Linked DNA regions of Homo sapiens: region 1 is linked to region 2. Evidence: promoter capture Hi-C in human tissues and cell types (Jung and others, 2019). All regions are on one chromosome and are shown on one strand. Each heading gives the region's core, a stretch centred on a gene start or on the middle of the fragment in contact. The rest is flanking DNA. Distances are from core to core; before and after follow the strand shown.

Evidence for each region. Contacts are between HindIII fragments. The study calls those that stand out against the background at their distance.
Region 1: the fragment with the promoter of PSMC1 here is called in contact with the fragment with the promoter of KCNK13 in region 2 in 1 of the 25 tissues and cell types used here (neural progenitor cells).

Annotation. Positions count from the first base shown.
Region 1 is chr14:90,254,397-90,257,854 of GRCh38, forward strand. PSMC1 (proteasome 26S subunit, ATPase 1) reads left to right here and starts at 2,157. Exons shown (of 11, transcript NM_002802.3): 1 at 2,157-2,204. The coding sequence starts at 2,202. RefSeq lists enhancers at 1,803-2,332, 2,208-2,447, 2,333-2,860. The HindIII fragment of the contact is 25,675 bases long and covers 1-3,458 here.
Region 2 is chr14:90,060,538-90,064,160 of GRCh38, forward strand. It overlaps KCNK13 (potassium two pore domain channel subfamily K member 13), which reads left to right and starts at 1,457. Exons shown (of 2, transcript NM_022054.4): 1 at 1,457-2,002. The coding sequence starts at 1,669. It overlaps LOC124903406, which reads left to right. Exons shown (of 3, transcript XM_047432048.1): 2 at 1-374; 3 at 825-1,196. The coding sequence ends at 1,089. RefSeq lists a silencer at 1-149 and enhancers at 398-899, 900-1,399. The HindIII fragment of the contact is 23,188 bases long and covers 1-3,623 here.

The DNA of each region.
Region 1 (3,458 bases), core at 907-3,406, 190 kb after region 2:
ATGAGAAAATGAGGATGACTTGCTGATGTCACACAGCTAGAGCAGAGCCTCCGGAGAGGAAACCTGTTGGTATCTTGATTTTAGCCCTGTGAGACCCAAGTTGAACTTCTAACCCAGAGACCTTCTAGCTTTGAGCACTACATTTATGGTCACTTTCTTTTTTTTTCTTTTTGAGATGGATTTTCCTTCTTTTCGCCCCGGCTGGAGTGCAATGGCGCAATCTCGGCTAACTGCAACCTCCGCCTCCCAGGTTCAAGCGATTGTCCCGTTTCAGCCTCCCGAGTACCTGAGATTACAGGCATCTGCCACCACTCCCAGCTAATTTTTGTATTTTCAGTAGACATGAGGTTTCACCATATTGGTCAGGTTGGTCTTGAACTCCTGAACTCAGGTGATCCACCCGCCTCGGCCTCCCAAAGTGCTGGGATTACAGGCGTGAGCCACGGCGCCCAGCCCCTGTGCATCTCTTTTGCCCTATGGCTGACTCTCAATCCTCCCCACCCGGTTGACAGTCATCTCTGCAACTCTCCCTCTTTTCCACTTGCAACTTCCAACCTCCCCAAGTGCTGAGCACTCCAAGTAGTCTTTCTAATCCTCTCCCTGCTTTCTCTTAGCTGTCCATTATGTAGATAAACTTAAATTTTCTGCTTACTTTATGTCACTTCCTACAGCCACAATAGGAAAGTCTGATGCCAACGTTGGCTACTCTCTTCATTACTGGGTTCTATTGACTCGCCTTTAACCGCTGAGCTTCCACTGGGAGTTATGTGCCTGTTTCTGACTTCTTCACTATATGGTGTCTCTAATCTCCATCCTCTGCAGCTTCTACTGCAGGGCCTCTGCCCTGGCTGTTCCCTCTACCTAGAAAGCTCTTCCACCAGATATCTGAATAGCTTACTCCTTCATGCCTTACGGGCTTTTGCTCAAGTATCATCCAATTTAAAGTTAAAATCACCCACCACTGCTGCATGCTCCTAATCCTAGGCATTTTTCCTAGGCATTAATTTTTCCTATGGCATTTACCACTATGTGGCATACTATATATTTTACTATTTACTTGTTTCTTGTAAAATGCATTAGGGAAAGGATATTTATTTTGTTTTTTAAATTTTTATTAATTTTTTTTTTTGAGACAGAGTCTCGCTCTGTCACCTAGACTGGAGTGCAGGGGCGTGATCTCACTGCAACCGTCGCCTCCCAGGTTCGAGAGATTCTCATGACTCGACCTCCCAAGCAGCTGGGATTACAGATGCCCACGATGATGCCCGACTAATTTTTGTATTTTTAGTAGAGATGGGAGTTTCACCATCTCTATCCTATGTGTGATACTGTCCTATCGTGTGATTTCATGTGTCATGTACACTAGATGCCAGATTTGTTAACAGAGGTCGATAGTGCTAAGACTTTCTATTACCGTGTTGCAGTGATGATGAAAAGGAAGAAGTATACCTGTTGTGTGTTCATAAGGGAAATATTTTTAGTGTTTCACAACTAAAATCCCTAAATCAATCTGGAGCAGAAAAAAAATCATCCATTTCTCCAGTTCAGAAAGATGCAGTATTTTGAGCACTTGTTAATGAAATTTCCAGAAACAGAAGGGATTGTTGCCATTTTTCTGATGTCCTGGAGGGTGTAACAAATGAGGAACTTTACCAATCAGCTTCAAGATGAGGAATTTAAGACATTTGGCATCATCACAAGTCACAGGTCATCAGAAAAAGACAGGTTTAGAAGACTCGTTACACACATACTCCCAGATGTGCAGGTTAAATTCCAGAAGCTGAATAATAACTGAAATATTTGTGCAAATGTATATGTCAACTTCCCAGTTCCAAATACCATTCCAGTTTTTAGAACCATAAAGTTCTTCCCAGTTATAAATTTTGCATAATTTAAATATTTTATATTTTCACGATTGTCCTAATTCTTTGACAGTAGGGGTCATTGTCTTAAGTTGTTGACAAGCGCCTCATAACGGGTATTCAAAAATTTCTTTCAAGTAAAATATTTATAAAGTTCACTTTATGCTTATAAACTGCTGCGTTGCCCTAGACCGCCCGCACAAGCCCTTGGAGCACAACTTGGTCAGCGCAGAATTTGGTTCCTATCAGCTTCCGTAGCGTCCCTAACGACTTCCGCCTCTGGCGGGCCGCAGTGGTGGAGGAACTTCCGGCAGCGGCAGCTCAAGTGGCCAAGGCAAGATGGTGAGTGACTAAGGGTTTCTTTCCGCTGGTCGTCGCGGTGCGATGGGGTCTCAGCAGCCTGAGGCGAGAGAAAGAGGCGGCTGCCCGAGGAACTGGGACAGCCCTCTTCTCCTTTTGCCGGCCTGATCTTCTCGGCGGGTGGAGGCTCCCAGAGACCGCGCTCATGTCCACCGCGGGCCGGGGCCGACCAACGGGCCTTGCCCGGGGATCCTGGGGCCGGGGCTCAGAGCAGAGAGAGGGTCTCCTGCGTGGTCTTGTGGGGCGGCAGAACGGATCAGGCCGCTGGCTTTGCTGCTCCGCCGACCAGGGCTTTGCTGATCGGCGCTGGGAGTTTCGGGGGCGCCTCCTCGAGTCACCGGGAAAAATGCTTTTTGAGTCGGGCAGGTGAAGGGTGCTGGAGAAGAGGGTGGGATTCATTCCACCTGAGGAGTTGAGCGCGGAGTCGTGGAAGGCCTTTCGGAGCTGGGGGCATTTGAAGGAGGCCTTAAAGACGTTGTTATGACAGGCGGAGCTAAGACGGAAAGGGCCCGTGGTGCAGTAGTAATAATAAAAACAGCTAGCATTTATTCATCAATTCACTAAACAAGTATTTACTGAGCACTTGGTGTTTTGTTGTTGTTGTTAAACTTTTGGCTAGCTTCTGTTGTAGACACTGAGGATTGATTGAAGTCCCTGCCTTCATAGTGCGTACATTCTAGAGCAGAAGGCAGACAATCATCAGAAATATGTAATATGATGTCAGGGGTGGGGTGGTCATTGTTGTATGGTTATTGTATAGAAAGGGATAGCTTGGAGGAGTGGCTGCTTTTTATAGAGTCAGCGAAGGTAGCTCTGAGGAGGTGAAATTTGAGCGGACCGAAATTGAGGGAGTAACCCCTGCAGATGTCTGAGGGAAATGTGGTCAAGGCAGAAGATACAGCAAGTGCAAAGGACCTGAGATGGGAATGTTTAACCTGTATCATGAACGGCAAGAAGGCCAGATCTCATAGAGGTCTTTTTTATTTTAATTTTAATTTTTATTTTTTTGAGACGGAGTCTTGGTCTGTCGTCCAGGCTGGAGTGCAGTGGCGCGATCTCCGCCTCCCGGGTTCAAGCGATTCTCCTGCCTTAGCCTTCCAAGTAGCTGCGACTATAGGCGCCCGCCACTACGCCCGGCTAATTTTTGTATTTTTGTAGAGACGGCGTTTCACTCTGTTGGCCAGGCTGGTCCTGAACTCCTGACCTTATGATCCGCCCGCCTCGGCCTCCCAAAGT
Region 2 (3,623 bases), core at 207-2,706:
CTCTCCCGGCCCCGGAGGGCCCACGCGGACCGGCTGAGCGTCCCACCAGCCGGTTCTGCATCCACTACCCAGATCTGCGCGCCCTGGTGGGAGCACCGCAGCCCCGGGTCGGCCCTTCGAACGCCGAGCGTCTACCCGCGGAGACCAGCGCAGGAGGCGGGCCCGCGCGCAAGGAGGCGGGCGACAGGGTGGAGTCGCCGCAGCTGGCAGCCGCACGGCTCTACCTGTTGCAGCGTCGGAGCGCGCCCGCCTGAGAAGGCAGAGCGCGGTGCGGACCTGTGCTCCGCGCGCCGGCTGGCAGGGCAGGGCCGCGGCTGCCAGGAGGCCCGGGAACAGTCCCGACGGAGCGGCGCGGAGAGGGCGCTCCCCGGAAGGTGAGATCTGAGCGCGGCAGCGGCGCCAGCGCCCGCTACAAGGCGGGGTCTCGGGGAGGGGGCCCCGGCGGTTTGCTGGAGAGCCTTGCTACTGTTCTGCATGAGGTGGGGGATGCCTTCTGCGCGGACCCCGCGTCCAGGCAAAACTCTGGAACGCACTAGGCAGCCAAGCCCGGGGGGAAGAGATGGAACGCTCCAAGGTCAAGGTCTCCTGGCCGCGGAGCCCTTCCAGCCCCCAGTGTTTGGCCTCCTCTCCGGAAGCGGGGCTGGCTCGCGGTGCGCGCTTGGTCCGGGCGGAGCCTACTAGTAGGCGCAGAGGACGCCCCCGCGCAGGATCCAGAGACCAAGGGCGCTCTGGCATGGTCAAGGCGAGGGAGGCTGCCCGGGGGAGAAGCCCCTAACTTCCTTTGCTCCCTGTTCCAACCTCCCTTTCTGGTCTCCTCTCTCCAGCCCGTCCGCCCAACGGATGCGCAGCGTTGGGGCCCGGCCGGAGGTCGGAGCCCTCGGACGCCGCAGCCCTCGGACGCCGCTCAGCACAGCCCCTCTCTCCGTGCGCCCGCCCTGGACCCCCTCCATCCCTAAGCCCCGGCAGCCGATTCGGAGACTCGGGAGGCCACAGGCTCAGCGCGACACCACGACCACAACTAGGAGGCACCATCGTCGATCTACCTGGGGAGGCACCTACAAAGCCAGCAGACTGACACCCGTGTCCTAGCCGTCGGCGGCCTGCGAAGCGATAGTCAAAGGAACCAGGACCCAGGACCCCGGCGCTCTGCTTACCCGCAGACCTCCGGACCGCGCCCCCCCCCCGCCGCCCCGCCCCGCCCCGCCCCGCCCCGCGACCGTCTCTTTGCGGGAAACTCGAGTTGGCTCGAGCTTGCCCTGAAGACGCGCCACGCCCCCTCCCCTATCTGAGCCGGACAGGGAGCCGGGGTGGAAACTGCGCCCGCATCCCAGCGCCAAGCAGACGTGAACTCTGCGCCCGTTCCCCGGGACCTTCAGCGTTAAGGAGAACTCCGAGGAGAGCAGGGGGAGTGGAGGGGAACGGCGGCGACAAAGCGGATTTGAAACTAGGAGTCAAGGAGGACGTGGGGAGCTGGCGCCACAGGAGCTACCGAGGCGGCGGCCGGGGGAGCCTCGCGGCCTGCGGGAGAGCCCGGCGGTCATGGGCGAGCCGGCGGTGGGGCGCCCGGGAGCTGGCTGAGCGCCGGGGCCCTTATTTCCCGGGGGTGTGGGCGAGACTCCGCCGACGCCCGGTGCCGTGGGCCTGGGGGCTGCCCCCGGGGGCCCGGCCATGGCTGGCCGGGGTTTCAGCTGGGGCCCGGGCCACCTGAACGAGGACAACGCGCGCTTTCTGCTGCTGGCCGCGCTCATCGTGCTCTACCTGCTGGGCGGCGCCGCCGTCTTCTCCGCGCTGGAGCTGGCGCACGAGCGCCAGGCCAAGCAGCGCTGGGAGGAGCGCCTGGCCAACTTCAGCCGCGGCCACAACCTGAGCCGCGACGAGCTGCGCGGCTTCCTCCGCCACTACGAGGAGGCCACTCGGGCCGGCATCCGCGTGGACAACGTCCGCCCGCGCTGGGACTTCACCGGCGCCTTCTACTTCGTGGGCACCGTCGTTTCCACCATAGGTAAGTGTGCTGGCCGGACTCGCTGACAACCTCCGGGCGGCCTCCACTTCCTCCGGGGGGCAGGACCGACCCTCTCATCCTTTCATTCATCCATCTGGGCGCCCAGCCAGACTCCACTGACATGAGCTGTCGCCTGATCAACAGGTGGTATTGCCTCCCCGCTGCTCTAATGTGGTCCAGGCACCGGCAGCTTCAGCGTCACCTGGCAGCTTGTTAGAAATGCAGTCTCAGTCCCCTCTGCAGACCTGCCGAGTCAGAATCTGCATGTTAACAAAGTCCCCAAAGGATTGGAATGATCCTTAAATTGGAGACGCTCTGCTCTGGGAGATTTTCAGTCTAATGAAGGAGACACGGCTTGAGTTCATGGGGAAGAAGGCTTTTACAGATAGGGACAGGAAACTAAACATTTACTGAGTCAGTCAGAGGGGAAGTGCAGATTTTAAAAGATTCTGCCCTCGACTTCACACTTACCGAGAAAAAATCAGAACAGCAGACTGAAAGTGAGGAAGCAAAAGTGCCAATGACGGTTCAAAAGATGGAAAATTTTCCACCAGGAAGAACCAGGGAAGTGACCTTTGGGCTGAATCAATTCGTGTTAGGCATAACTTGGGTTTGGGAACTGAAAGCGCGGTTGCACTCTAGAGTAGGAGAGAATCGCACTCAGGGGCCCCATGAGCTGGTTGGAGTGGTGGAAGGAAGACTAGGAAGGTCTGCTGGCTAATGGGATGGAGGCGGGGGTAGGACCTTCACTGACAGACTGAGGAGCTGGAATTTACCTAGAGGCACCTGGGAGCCATTGAGAATTTTTTAGCAAAGATGTAGCACAGCTACAATCAGCTGTGTTTATTTCCCAGCAGAAGGAAAATGATTTGGGGGAGTCTGCGCCACACCCCTAAAGATTGTTCATCCTTGAAGAATAATCAAGTGATTAATGGGGGTTAGGGAAGATGCTGTAGAAATAAATTCTGAGGGGGGCAAAAAGAGACCTGGAGCAGGGGAGGGAGGTTGGAAGAGTTAGACGGAGAGGAAGTGGCCTCCAAGCTGCAAAAAAGGCTGGCAGTTGCAAACAGCCCAGGGTGCATGTGCTGAGCGCTCTGTAGCTACTGCCCCTGTGCACTCTAGAAGAGCTCGCTGGTGAGGTGGGGCGACAAGTTGAGCCTCCTTGAGGCTCCCACACATGGCTGTGCTACATAGACATTCTGCCAGGAGAAGCAGCACAAAAGACAAAAGAGATTGGCTTCAGGTCAGATTCATCATGAAAGACTTCCCAGGGCTAGTCCAGGAATCCAGGGCTTCAGCTGATGCACAGGAGGCGAGGCAGAGGACCAGTATGATTAGGGACACACCGGCTGTATCTGAAGTGCCTGGCTCCCAGCCCCCATCCCATCCCAGATGGTGCGGCCCATCAGCAGGCCATGATGGCACCACCATAACTGGGTATCAGGCAGGAAACCTTGCAGCAGACCAGAATGGGCCCAAGATTGGTGAAGGAGGAATAACACCCCCATGGTTCTCCCCCTGAGCCCACACTATCTGCTGGACTCTTAGCCGTGTTCCACAAGCCCCTCCTCACATCACCTCCCACGTCCCAGAAGACAGTTCCAGAATCTCCACATAGGCA